Linked DNA regions of Homo sapiens: region 2 is linked to region 1. Evidence: promoter capture Hi-C in 16 types of primary human blood cells and fetal thymus (Javierre and others, 2016). All regions are on one chromosome and are shown on one strand. The core of a region is centred on a gene start or on the middle of the fragment in contact, and the rest is flanking DNA. Distances in the headings are between cores, read along the strand shown.

The links. Contacts are between HindIII fragments. The CHiCAGO score rates a contact against its expected background, and 5 or more counts as called.
Region 2: a fragment that was not itself captured here is called in contact with the fragment with the promoter of KPNA7 in region 1 in 1 of 17 cell types (naive CD4 T cells); the score reaches 5.4 in naive CD4 T cells.

Annotation. Positions count from the first base shown.
Region 1 is chr7:99,205,395-99,212,689 of GRCh38, reverse strand. It overlaps KPNA7 (karyopherin subunit alpha 7), which reads left to right and starts at 4,575. Exons shown (of 11, transcript NM_001145715.3): 1 at 4,575-4,662; 2 at 5,201-5,289. The coding sequence starts at 5,224. The HindIII fragment of the contact is 12,895 bases long and covers 3,900-7,295 here.
Region 2 is chr7:99,055,257-99,062,551 of GRCh38, reverse strand. It overlaps SMURF1 (SMAD specific E3 ubiquitin protein ligase 1), which reads left to right. Exons shown (of 18, transcript NM_181349.3): 2 at 715-753; 3 at 1,845-1,953; 4 at 5,001-5,134; 5 at 5,282-5,347. Among named protein-coding and RNA genes, the nearest start is that of SMURF1, 85 kb to the left of the region's middle. RefSeq lists a silencer at 6,672-6,966. The HindIII fragment of the contact is 4,291 bases long and covers 891-5,181 here.

The DNA of each region.
Region 1 (7,295 bases), core at 3,326-5,825:
TCAAACTCCTGCCTCAAGCTTCTGCCTTGGCCTCCCAAAGCGTTGAGACTATAGGTGTGAGCCACTGTGCCTGGCCAATTTAGTCTTAAAAAGCAACGCTTCCTTATGGGGCAGAATTTGAGATTACTTAAAAGTAAGCCATGCATGGTGGCTCACTCCTGTAATCCCAGCACTTTGGGGGACCGAGGCGGGTGGGCCACCTGAGGTCAGGAGTTTGAGACCAGCTCAGCAATATGATGAAACCCCATCTCTACCAAAAAAAGAAAAAAAATACAAAAATTAGCTGGGCGTGGTGGCAGGTGCCTGTAATCCCAGCTACGTGGGAGGCTGAGGCAGGAGAATTGCTTGAACCGAGAGGTGGAGGTTGCAGTGAGCTGAGATCGCACCACTGCACTCCAGCCTGGGCTACAAGAATGAAACTCTGTCTCAAAAAAAAAAAAAAAAAAAAAAAAAAAAGGACACATGTGGATCGGACACCAGTGTTTCCTAGCCTGATCTCCCAGTGCTGAGGCTGTCTTGCAATGTTGTTCTCTTCCCTTCCCAGGTATACTGAGTTCTGATGTGTTGCTAGGAGTAAAGCTACCTCGAGCTTGAAGTTGTATTGAAGAAATCTAAAGCCTGAGATAGTCTTAAGCCAACTTGTGTGAGGGCTCCCTGGGCAGCAACCAAAGGACTCTGGATTCACTGAGGTCCCTTTGTCCACATTGGTTGGGGAGGAGGTCAACATGACTCACAATGATTGAGAGCTTCGTGAATGTTTAAACCAGGTGTCACCCTCCACCTCTCTGGCTTTGAGATCGGAGAGTGGGAGAGATTGGTCAATTCCAGGAACTAATTTGCATTTCCCAGGATCAGATTTGCAGACAAGGTATATAGGCTATTCTTTCCCAGGCTGTGGAGGAAACTAATGCTTTAAAGCAGGCAGAGCCACCAGGATCTGAAACCCAGAGGGATGGTGTGGGCTGTTGGTTTCCTCTGCTCTGAGGCTCAGCTGACATGCTCTCCTGTAGCTCCTGTCTTGCTGTGGGTGGCTGGAGCTTGATTTTAGGGACTTGTCCCTGGCGCAGTGACTACTGTTGCCAGCAGTGCCTCTGATACTAACTCTGTTGTTCTATCTCCAACTCCCTCCTTTGTCCTGGTTCTTTGCTAATTCTTCATTCTCTCAGGCCCTAATGTGAGCATCCTCAAGACTCGATCCTTGTTCTGATCTTGCATAGAGCTTGTCTCTCTTCTTACAACATCAGTCTTGGCCCTAAATTACTTTTTTTGAGACAGAGTCTCACTCTGTTGCCCAGGCTGGAGTGTAGTGGCTTGATCTAGGCTCACTGCAACCTCTGCCTCCCAGATTCAAGCGATTCTCCTGCCTCGGCCTCTCAAGTAGTTGGGATTACAGGCACATGTGCCACCACACCTGGCTAATCTTTGTATTTTTAGTAGAGACAGGGTTTTGCCATGTTGGCCAGGTTGGTCTCGAACTCCTGACCTCAGGTGATCCACCCGTCTTGGCCTCCCAAAGTGATGGGATTATAGGCATGAGCCACTGTGCCCAGCCAGCTCTAAATTCTCTGATGCAAATCTCCAAGTTGTCTGCACTGCCCCTTTCAAATTGATATGTCTGAATTAGTCTTTTCTACCAAAACTATTCTTGGCTGCTATTCACTGAAGACAAGAGTCAGTTGACTTTCTTTATCCAATTTTCTCTTTTCTATAATGTAGTCTGGACCATCTCGTATGGTCAGAAACAGATGAATATTACATACCTGTAAGAAATATTCCCTGCTGCCTTGTGAACATTCAAAGTTGGGGCCAGGTGCAGTGGCTCATGCCTCTAATCCCAATGCTTTGGGAGGCTGAGGGGGAGGATTGCTTTAGCCCAGGGGTTTGAAACCAGCCTGGGCAACATAGTGAGATCCCATCTCTACAAAAAATACAAATTAGCCAGCCTTGGTGACTTGTGCCTGTAGTCCTAGCTGCTCAGGAGGCTGAGGCAGGAGGATCACTTGAGCTCAAGAGGTTGAGGCTGCAGTAAGCCATGATTACACTATTTATTGCACTCCAGCCTGGGCAACGGAGCAAGACTGTCTCAAAAGCAAAACAAAAACACAAAAGCAAACTCCCTCCAATTTAAAAAAAGTTCAAACTTGGCCTGATTTGAATAACCACCTCTAACTGAGGGCCAACTCCCTGTCTCGTATCACACAGTACCCTCCCTTGACAAATATTTGAGTACCTACTTTGTCATGTGTTGTGAAAGAGGTAAGAAATCCCTGCCTAAGACACAGTACTGTTACCATGGGGAGTAGGAGGAGAGGAAGTTGGACAAACAAGAAAATATCAGGCAGTGGTTAAAGCTGAGAAGAAAATAAGACTGGGAAGACAGTTAAAAGGGCTTTCAGAGATGTTTAAGCAGAGACTGAATGAAGAGGAGCCAAGTGTGCAGAGATCCTGGGCAGAGCAGCTACTTCAAAGGCCCGAGTACAATGAACCTGGAACACTTGATAATGAAGCCCAGGGGTCTAGAACACAATGATCAAGGAAAGAGTTGTTGGAGGTGAAGTGGGCTGGGGCCAGTGCAGAAAGTGAATTTTCTTCTAAACTCATTGGGTAGCCAGGAGAGTTTTTTTAAGCAGGAGAGTTAGATCAGATTCTCCTTGATTTTTTCTTTTTTTTGTTTGTTTGTTTTGGAGACAGGGTCTGGCTCTGCTGTCCAGGCTGGAGTGCAGTGGTGCAATCGTGGCTCACTGCAGCCTTGACTTCCTGGGCTCCAGAAATCCTCCCACCTCAGCCTCAAGTAGCTGGGACTACAGGTATGTGCCACCATGCCCAGCTTATTTTTATATTTTTTGTAGAGACGGGGGTCTTGCTTTGTTGCCCAAGCTGGTCTTGAACACCTGGCCTTAAGCAAGTCTCCACCTTAACCTCTCAAGTTGTTGAGATTACAGGCATGAGCCACTGTGCCTGACTAATCAGATTTTTTTCTTTTTTTTTTTTTTTTTTTTTTTTTTTTGAGTTGGAGTCTCGCTCTGTTGCCCAGGCTGGAGTGTAGTGGTGCGATCTTGGCTCACGGCAACCTCCGCCCCCTGGGTTCAAGCGATTCTCCTGTCTCAGCCTCCTGAGTAGCTGGGACTACAGGTGCCTGCCACTACGCCTGGCTAATTTTGTACTTTTAGTAGAGACAGGGTTTCGCCATGTTGGTCTGGCTGGTCTCGAACTCCTGACCTCAGGTGATCCACAATCACATGTACTCTGTGCAAAGAACAGATTGGAATAAGGCAATGGGAGAAGCAGGGAGACCAGCTGGAAGGCAACTGCAGTAGTGTGGGTAAGAGGTGATAGTGGTCTGGACTGGGGTGGAGGCAGTCTACTGAAGGATTCTCAGTGACTTGTGCTTGAGACTGTCCTGACCCCATGTGCTGGTGCATTGGGTGTGGGGTTTTCCTGTTGCAGCCTTGGCGGGTCTCCTCACCACCCTGTACATATGCCTGATTTATAACTCCTCAGACACACCGTGTGAAAGCCTTCTTTTCTTTTTCTTTTTGAGACGGAATCTTACTCTGTTGCCCAGGCTCGAGTACAGTGGCGCAATCTCAGCTCACTGCAACCTCCGCCTCCCGGATTCAAGTGATCCTCCTGCTTCAGCCTCCCAAATAGCTGGAATTATAGGTGTCCGCCACCATGCCTGACTAATTTTTGTATTTCTAGTAGAGATGGGGTTTCCCCATGTTGCCCAGGCTGATCTCGAACTCCTGGCCTCAAGTGATCCATCTGCCTCAGCCTTCCAAAGTGCTGGGATTATAGGTGTGAGCCACTGCACCTGGCATGAAAGGCTTCTATATATGACAACCAGCCCATCTGCCTCATTTGAGGACCCAGTTGAAGCCAAAGCACTTTTAAAAGCTTTCCTTTACTGCTATGCCCAGCATTGGTGGTCTTGGTGCTCCCACAGTGTTCACAGCCTACTGAGCTGGTGTGGTGATGCTTATAGAAGCTGACTTCAGGTTCATGCCTGTAATCCCAGCACTTTGGGAGGCTGAGGTGGGTGGATCACAAGGTCAGGAGTTCAAGACCAGCCTGGCCAACGTGGTGAAAAGCCGACTCTACAAAAACAAACAAAACCAAAAATAAGCCAGGTGTGGCCGGGCACGGTGGCTCACGCCTGTAATCCCAGCACTTTGGGAGGCCGAGGTGGGTGGATCACGAGGTCAGGAGATAGAGACCATCCTGGCTAACACGGTGAAACCCCGTCTCTACTAAAAATACAAAAAAATTTGCTGAGCGTGGTGGCAGGTGCCTGTAGTCCCAGCTACTCGGGAGGCTGAGGTAGGAGAATGGCGTGAACCCGGGAGGCGGAGCTTGCAGTGAGCCAAGATTGCGCCACCGCACTCCAGCCTGGGTGACAGAGTGAGACTCTGTCTCAAAAAATAAATAAATAAAATAAATAAAAAGTGAGTCATGTGTGGTGGCTCATGCCTGTAGTCCCAGCTACTCAAGAGGCTGAGGTGGGTGAATCACTTGAGTCCAGGAGGTCAAGGTTGCAGTGAGCCGTGATTGTGCCAATGCACTCCAGCCCGGGTGACAGAGTGAGACTCTGATGCCAACAAGCAGGTCTTGCAGAAATAGGACATGGAGCTGAGAAGTCCAGACTGTTGTTCTTGCTGCCAGGTTGAGCCCAAGGGTTGGGGACGGGGAGTCTGTGCTGTGTATATGGGTTCTAACTCTCACTCAGCTTCTCTGGTCCCAAAAAATAAAAAATGCTGGCTGGGAGCGGTGGCTCATGCCTGTAATCCCAGCACTTTGGGAGGCCGAGGTGGGCGGATCACAAGGTCAGGAGTTCAAGACCAGCCTGGCCAACGTGGTGAAACCCCGTCTCTACTAAAAAGACAAAAATTAGCCGGGCGTGGTGGCAGGCGCCTATAGTCCCAGCTACCTGGGAGGCTGAGGCAGGAGAACCACTTGAACCCGGGAGGCGGAGGTTGCAGTGAACTGATATCCCCCCACTGCACTCAAGTCTGGGCAACAGAGCGAGACTCTGTCTCAAAAAAAAAAAAAAAAAAAAAAAAAAAAAAAAAAAAAAAAGCTAGCTTCCTGGGTCTGCCCTTTGCTCCACTGTGAGCCCTTTAAGGGTTAGAGCCTTATGATACTGACATAATAACCCACACAATGGGCACTGAAAATTTCTTTGTTGCTGTCCAACCTGCAGGTAACTTACTACTTCCAGTCAATATGCCGACCTTAGATGCTCCAGAAGAGAGGCGGAGAAAATTTAAGTACCGAGGCAAAGATGTGTCTGTGAGTATGAAGCACCCACCTGCTTCTATTGGGGACCAGTGCAATCTGCATAAAAAGCGGGGTGAAGAGACCAGGCGCGGTGGCTCATGCCTGTAATCCCAACACTTTGAGAGGCTGAGACGGGCAGATCACAAGGTCAGGAGGTTAAGACGATCCTGGCCAACATGGTGTAACCCCGTCTCTACTAAAAATACAAAAATGACCTGGGTGTGGTGGCTTGTACTTGTAATCCCAGCTACTTGGGAGGCTGAGGCAGGAGAATTGCTTGAACCTGGGAGGCAGAGGTTGCAGTGAGCTGAGATCAGGCCACTGCACTCCAGCCTGGGCGACAAGAGAGAAACTCCATCTCAAAAAAAAAATAGCGGGGGGCAGGGAGGTGGTGGAGAGATGGGTTGAAAAGGCAAATATAGCAAAAGATTCTTTAGATAGATGACTAGGTGTTTCCCTGAATTATCCTTCCAACTTTTCTGTATGTTTGCTATTTTCATCATAAAATATTAAAGGTGGAGAAGACAAAAGCATGTGGACTTAGGAGCCAGACAACTGTGGAATCAAATCAAAGTTTCCGTGGAATCTTGCAATTATTTAATTTCAGAACCCCAGTTTCTTCATCCATAAAACAGGGCTGCTTAGCTGGGCATGGTAGCTCATGCCTGTGTTCCCAGTACTTTGGGGGAGGCCAAGGTGGGAGGATCGCTTGAAGATAGGAGTTCTAGACCAGCCTGGGTAACATACCAAGACCTCCAACTCTACAAAAACAAAAAATCGGCCAGGTGTGGTGGTGTGTGCCTGTAGTCTCAGATACTCTGGTGGCTGAGGCAGGAGGATTGCTTGAGCCCAGGAGTTCAAGGCTGCAGTGAACTGTGATTGTGCCACTGCACTCCAATCTGGGTGACAGAGCCAGACCCTGTCTCTAAAACAAAACCAAATAAAAAACCAGGCTGGGCTGGGCATGATGGCTCACACCTGTAATTCCAGCACTTTGGGAGGCCAAAGTGATCACTTGAGGTCAGGAGTTCGAGACCAGCCTGGCCAACATGGTGAAACCCTGTCTGTACTAAGAATACAAAAAATTAGATGTGCATGGTGGCGGGGGCCTGTAATCCCAGCTACTTGGGAGGCTGAAGCAGGAGAACTGCTTGAACCTGGGAGGTGGAGGTTGCAGTGAGTCGAGATTGTGCCACTGCACTCCATCCAGGCGACAGTGTGAGACTTCGTCTGAAAAAAATAAAAAACCAGGCTGCTATTTATCTCCGAGGAGCTGGATTGCTTCCTCAAGGGCCAGTATACAGGTGTTTACAGCTGCTCACGTCAATGAGGCTTACCAAGGAGCTAAAACGTTAGCATATAGGTATGGCCAACAGGCATGCCTTGTAGAAATAGGACTTGGAACTGAGAAGTCCAGGCTGTTCTTGCTTCCAGGTTGAGCCCAAGGGCTGGGGACGGGGGGTGTGTGCTGTGTATATGGATTCTAACATTCACTCGGCTTCTTTGGTCACATAGTTTTGTGTTGCAAGCTCTGTCCTCCATCTCTGTATCTTTTTATTTTTGAGATGAAGACTTGCTTCATAGTCCAGGCTGGAGTGCAGCAGTGTGATCTTGGCTCACTGCAACCTCTGCCTCCCAGGTTCAAGCGATTCTCCTGCCTCAGCCTCCCAAGTAGCTGGGATTACAGGTGTGCACAATTACGCCTGGCTAATTTTTTGTATTTTTAGTGGAGACAGGGTTTTGCCATGTTGGCCAGGCTGGTCTCAAACTCCTGGCCTCAAGTGATCTGCCTGTCTTGGCCTCCCAAAGTGCTGGGATTACTGGCATGAGCCACTGCTCCCAGCCCCCCATCTCTGTATCTTGACTGGCATCGTATAAGTTTAGCTCCACCTTGGGAATCCAGAAGCCTGATTAGGAGAACGAGGGAAGCACAGGGTCACAGCAGCCTGGTTAGGCCACCATCAGGAACAAAATCACTTTTTTTTTTTTTTTTTTTTTTTTTGAGATGGAGTCTTGCT
Region 2 (7,295 bases), core at 1,787-4,286, 150 kb after region 1:
ACGTGCATTTTATCATTTTTTGTTCACACTACCCTGATGATGGCCCCATATTTTTTTTTACCACCTTCCCCTTGCTTACTATTTTCCAACATATCAAAGTTTACATTTACAAAATTGTATTACTTATCAGAATAAAAAATTGCATAGCTTCTTCTGTCATTAGCGGTACCTGTAAGGATAAATACTTCAGGTCTTTATTTGAGTTGGTTTTTATGTGATCATATGCAGTATAAGAGAATATCGGTAGGCTGGGTGCAGTGGCCCTATCTCTACAAAAATAAGAACATTTAGCCAGGCATGGTGGCGTGTGCCTATAATCCTAGCTACTGGGAGGGCTGAGGCAAGAGGATTGCTTGAATCACCCAGGAGTTCGAGGCTGCAATGAGCTATGATCATGCCCCTGCACTCCAGCCTGGGCAAGAGAGCAAGACCTTATCTCTTAAAAAAAAAAAAAGTATATTGATCAACCCATCTGAATGTGTTTAAGATTTTTAGTTTAAAGCATTTTGTATTTGTTATAGCTGATCTTCAGTTTGAGGAGAAAACACTTTTTAGATGGTTGTCCATTTTTTGTTTCATATGATACTAGATTTGAAAGTCAAATCTTCGGCAAAGCTAATTTTTAGAGTCTTTTTGTTCGGGTGTAAATATAGATTAGCTATTATGGAAATCTCGTCTTTAATGCTAACCTGAGTAATTTTTCTTTGTTTTTAGTGTTATGTGCCAAGAACCTTGCAAAGAAAGACTTCTTCAGTAAGTAAACACTTATTTTTTTCCCTCTTATAATGTTATGCATGTATTTCTGAAATTTTAAACTTTAAAAAAAGATTGGGTATATTCTCTTCAAAGTTTTGCCCTTTACTTAATAGAAATCCATGGTTCTCCAAGCTTTATTTCCCGGTTGACTACAACATGGGTAGTTCCTTAGCTGAAATATACAGAACTTATAAATCATACCGCAAAACCTGTCTTTCGTTTCCTATTCTGGTCACACCCAATTTTTTCTGCCTCTCTACCTATTAGAATATTGCTTTCTGCTGGATGATGTATTCTCAGCTCTAATACAAATGAAATACTTTTGTATAAAACAGCTGGATTTGCATACAATTGTTAATCAGATTTTATAAATTAAATCACATTTACAACACCCTATAATTAAAGGAATTGCAAAAATAAGAGACTCCTTTTCTAAAGGAAGGAATCACTCCTTAAGAAAGTCATGCAGTATCTGGTCAGTGCCTGCAGCATTAAATTCTTCACACACTTTCTGATCCTCACAAGACATCTTTCAGTTCTTAAGTGGTATTATTCATGCTTTCAAGATGAAGAAACTTAGGCTCAAAGGCTTTCTCCAGGTAGCCAGGAAGCTCCAGCATGGTGGCTCGTGTCCATCTCTATCTCTGACAACTGTCCACTTTGCCACCTGTCTGATCTAATAAACCTCTCTGATTCATTCTCTAGCATTTAGGGACTTACCGAATTAAGGCCTGGTGAATACTTGCTTCCATAGATAAGATAGGCAAAGATCAGTAAACAAATTTCGGGGCATTATTAATTTTTAGAAAGTCTAAATACAATTACTTTCAGACACTTTTCCCTCCACTTAATTAGCCCCACTTTAATAGAAATTTGAATGTAAGCCTTTTTTTTTTTCAGTCACTTTCTTTTCTACCCTCTAAAAATCTGAGTATGGAGGCATACTAGGCTCTCTTAGAAAGCTCAATAGACATAACTTATTTTGCTGATTGAAATTATCCTGAAATTAGAGAACACGAATTGTGTGTTCTGTGTCACATGGATGGATGTGAGGTCTCATCTAGGTGTGGGTCTCCTCTCTCCTCTAGGGCTCCCTGACCCTTTTGCAAAGATTGTCGTGGATGGGTCTGGGCAGTGCCACTCAACCGACACTGTGAAAAACACATTGGACCCAAAGTGGAACCAGCACTATGATCTGTGAGTTGAATGTTCTGTAAGCCCCATGCGGAGCGGCAGGAAAGCAGGTGTCTACCTTTTACGAGAAACATCCAAGAGAAAAAAAAAAAAAGGATGACTTTTTATTGATAACAAAAGCGGATGGCCAAATGAATGTCTACATTGCCTAATTTTAGAATTCATGTACTTGGAAGTTCTTGCATTTTGTTACTTTCTTTTTTCTTTTTTTTTTTTTTTTTTTGAGACGGAGTCTCACTCTGTCACCCAGGCTGGAGTGCGGTGGCGTGATCTCAGCTCACTGCAACCTCCGCCTCCCGGGTACAAGTGATTCTCCTACCTCAGCCTCCCAAGTAGCTGGGATTATGGACATATGCCACCATGCCCAGCTAATTTTTGTATTTTTTAGTAGAGATGGGGTTTCACCATGTTGGCCAGGCTGGTCTTGAACTCCTGACCTCAAGTGATCTGCCCACCTTAGCCTCCCAAAGTGTTGGGATTACAGGCGTGAGCCACTGCGCCCGACTGCATTTGGCATGTTCATAGATTTTTATGGTTTGGTTTTGTACATGTGATCCTCAAACTTTTCAATCTCCTGGCCATTTTAGCAGAAAAAAAGGCCATAGTTTGTGAACTCCACATGCTACTGTTTTTCAGCAAAACCCTAAACCTAGTTGTAGTTTCTACCTAAAAAATGCATTTTTTTTTTTTTTGAGATGGAGTCTTGCTTTGTCGCCCAGGCTAGAGTGTGCAGTGGCGCGATCTCGGCTCACTGTGACCTCCACCTCCTGGATTCAAGTGATTCTCCTGCCTCAGCCTCCCAAGTAGCTGGAATTACAGGCATCCGCCAGCATGCCCAACTAATTTTTGTATTTTTAGTTGAGACGGGGTTTCACCATCTTGGCCAGGCTGGTCTCGAACTCCTGACCTCATGATCCACCCGCCTCAGCCTCCCAAAGTTCTGGGATTACAGGCGTGAGCCACTGTACCAGGCCTAAAAAATTCATTATTATGACTGTATGTTTCTGTTGACTTTGAAAATTTTTGCTTTTTAGTACATATATATTTTCTGCAAGAGAAAATATAGTTTTATATGATCAAAGCCATCAATTTCTTATAGTCATTCAAAAACTGGATTGTACTTTGAAGACCACTATTTTATTTTATTTTATTTTATTTTATTTTATTTTATTTTATTTTATTTTATTTTATTTTATTTTTTTTTGAGATGGAGTCTTGCTCTGTCGCCCAGGCTGGAGTGCAGTGGCGGGATCTCGGCTCACTGCAAGCTCCGCCTCCCGGGTTCACGCCATTCTCCTGCCTCAGCCTCCCAAGTAGCTAGGACTACAGGCGCCCGCCACTACGCCCGGCTATTTTTTGTAGTTTTAGTAGAGACGGGGTTTCACCGTTTTAGCCGGGATGGTCTCGATCTCCTGACCTCGTGATCCGCCCGCCTCGGCCTCCCAAAGTGCTGGGATTACAGGCGTGAGCCACCGCGCCCGGCCTATTTTATTTTTAAATTAAATTAAATTTTTTTTTCAAACAGAGTCTCGCTCTGTTGCCCAGGCTGGAGCGCAGTGGCGCAATCTTGGCTCACCGCAACCTCCTCCTGCTGGGTTCAAGCGATTCTCGATCTTCAGCCTCCCGAGTAGCTGGGATTACAGGTACCCGCCACCATGCCTGGCTAATTTTTATATTTTTAGTAGAGATGGGTTTCACCATGTTGGCCAGGCTGGTCTTGACCTTCTGACCTCAGGTGATCCACCTTGGCCTCCTGAAGTGCTGGGATTATAGGCGTGAGCCACTGCACCTGGCTGTGAAGACCACTATTTTATATGCACCCATGTTTTCATGTTCCTACTAAGATATTTTCATCAAAGTAATCCTGAAAGATTATTGTCTTTTAGTTAATACAAATTATACTGTATTTGGGTGGGATTTTTAAGAATTATATTCTAAGATTCAGTTTCAGTGACACTGAGGCTGTGTAAGTGGGTTGAGTTCCTCTCTCCGTTGACTTGCAGTGACAGTAAATGGAGGTTTAATGTCTTAGTGTCCTCTTGTGTACTTTGAATAGATCCGTAGGTTTGTAAGTAGTCCCTTGTCGCAAACCAGTATTCTGTATCAAACCTAATTGGTGAGAATTTATGAATCATGTTACTGTCCTATGCGACTATTAAAATATAGTAAATTTGCTGGGTGCAGTGGCTCACACCTGTAATCTAAGCACTTTGGGAGGCCGAGGCAGGAAGATCACCTGAGGTCAGGAGGTTGAGACCAGCCTGGCCAACATGGTGAAACCCCGTCTCTACTAAAAATACAAAAATTAGCCAGGTGTGGTGGCAGGTGCCTGTAATCTCAGCTGCTGGGGAGGCTGAGGCAGGAGAATTCCTTGAACCCAGGAGACAGGTTGCAGTGAGCTAACACTGCGCCATTGCACTCCGGCCTGGGCGACAAGAGCAAAATTCCGTCTCAAAAAAATAAAAAAATAAATAAAAATAAATAAAATATAGTAAGTCTGTTATAAGATTATTATCATCGTGTGGTTATCTACATTTGCCCCTTCCATAAGGAGCAAGGTAGTTCTTCTTCCCAGCTTGTTGAAATTAATGGATACGTATTTATTAAATGCCTGTTACATGTGTAATACAGAGGCAACATTATTTTATAAGGTTTCTTAAAGAGAAAATCTCAATGAGATATCATAATTCAGAAATACAATTAAAAGCTGGGCATAGTAGCTCATGCCTGTAATCCCAGCACTTTGGGAGGCCAAGGCAGGTGGATCACCTGAGGTTAGGAGTTCAAGACCAACCTGGCCACATGGCGAAACCCCATCTCTACTAAAAATACAAAAATTAGCCAGGCATGGTGATGCACGCCTGTAGTCCCAGCTACTCGGGAGGCTGAGGCAGGAGAATCACTTGAACTTGGGAGTTGCAGTGAGCTGAGATCACACAACTGCACTCCAGCCTGGGGGCAACAGAGCAGGATTCTATCTCAAAAAAAAAAAAAAACAAAACAAAAAAAACCAAACACAATTAAAAATGAGTTTTGCACTTTCTTTCCAGATATGTTGGGAAAACGGATTCGATAACCATTAGCGTGTGGAACCATAAGAAAATTCACAAGAAACAGGGAGCTGGCTTCCTGGGCTGTGTGCGGCTGCTCTCCAATGCCATCAGCAGATTAAAAGATACCGGATGTAAGAACCAAACACTTTCCTGCCTCTTAATGCAACCAAAGAAAGCTTAGGAGGCATCGTTTTTTGTTTTGATCGCTGAATACTGAATTCCTGCCTTCCTCCCTAGTTCACGTTCCTTGGGTTAAGTTTTGAATTGTTTGTTTACAGACCAGCGTTTGGATCTATGCAAACTAAACCCCTCAGATACTGATGCAGTTCGTGGCCAGATAGTGGGTAAGAACTTTCTTGTCTGTGTAAAGAGATGCTTTTCCAGAACTTACATTCAACCCTTCATCGCCGAGAACTCACATACAGGCACTGACGATGCTGACGGGCCTCAGAGGACAGACCACGTACGGGGCCTTCTCTTCAGTACTAGGAAGTTTTGTCTTGTGTAGTTTTTATTATTTTATCTAATTCCCTTCTCCTGGCTTTTTTTTTTTTTTGGTTTTTTTTTTTTTGAGATGGAGTGCAGTGGTGAGATCTCAGCTCACCTCAACCTCCGCCTCCCAGGTTCCAGCGATTCTCCTGCCTCAGCCTCCCGAGTACTTGGGACCACAGGTGTGTGCCACCACGCCTGGCTAATTTTTGTATTTTTAGTAGAGGCGGAGTTTCACCATGTTGGCCAGGCTGGTCTCGATTTCCTGACCTCGAGTGATCTGCCCGCCTTGGCCTCCCAAAGTGCTGGGCTTACAGGCGTGAGCCACCATGCCCGGCCCCCTTCTCTTGGCTTTTAAAGTTGAGTAAAAATGACTCGGGTACAGAAAGATTTAGGGTTAGAATTTTAAATGTAATTTTAATCATCACATTTATGGACAATACATTTTTGACCGTATTATCCAAGGGTAGATAATAAGAATGGTGGCCACACATACAGGAGTTGGGAAATAGTTTCTTCTGGAAGCCCCATCATATATGTAAAAAGCATAGAGTTGTGAAGAATTCCATGTAATATGATTTGTACAGTCAGGGGACTGCATTATTTAGAATGAAAAATTAAAGTGTGCTAATGTTACAAAGTGTTGGCTAGAGGCAGTCTGTTGGAAGTGATTTAGCTGTTAAATAACTCATCCTATTATCCACCCACTTGTATTAGTGTTTTAGGGTAACTCAGATATTGACTTGGAAGCACTGCTGCATGGAATAAAAAAAAAAAGGTCTCTCTGCAGCACACTGGAGTGATTCTCACTCCAAATCTTTTAGGTATTGTCCTGTGTAGACCTGACCCAAGATAAATGAATAGTGCAGACATACACCCTGAAATCTACCATCATGAAAAAGTTCTCACCGAATGCTTTCCTGCGTGTAATTTCTTTTTTCTTTGTGGCGGGATGTGCCAGGGAGAAAAATGAGTAACTGAAAACAACTTTATAAAAGTCTTGTTCATAGTAAAGATAGAGAATAAATATTTAGATTCACTTAGACTTTGCAGATACTGAAAGTACTCTCTGTGTCTTTATTCATTTTTTTTTTGACACGGAGTCTTGCTCTGTCGCCCAGGCTGGAGTGCAGTGGCATGATCTTAGCTCACTGCAACCTCCGCCTCCCGCGTTTAAGCGATTCTCCTGCCTCAGCCTCCTGAGTAGCTGGAGTTACAGCTGCTTGCCACCACGCCTGGGTAATTTTTTGTATTTGTAGTGGAGACGGGGTTTTGCCATGTTGGCCAGACTGGTCTGGAACTCCCAGCCTCAGGTGATCCGCCCGCCTTAGCCTCCCAGAGTGCTGGTATTACAGGTGTGAGCCACTGTGCCCGGCCTCTCTGTGTCTTTATTAAACTTAAGTCAGAATGTTCTTAAGAAATAAAAACTGGGCTCAGTGGCACATGCCTGTAGTCTAGCTACTCTGAGGCTGAGGTGGGAGGATTGCTCAAGCCCAGGAGTTTGAGGCCAGCCTGGGCAACACAGTGAGACTTAATCCCCCCCAAAAAAACTTCTTATTTTTATTATTTTTTTTAATTTTTAATTTTTTTTGGAGACAGAGTCTCACTCTGTCACCCCTGCTGCAGTTCAGTGGCGCGATCTTAGCTCACTGTAACCTCCGCCTCCTGGGTTCAAGCAATTCTCCTGCCTCAGCCTCCCAAGTAGCTGGGACTACAAGTGTGTGCCACCATGCCTGGCTCATTTTTGTATTTTTAGTAGAGATGGGGTTTTGCCATGTTGCCCAGGCTGGTCTCAAACTCCTG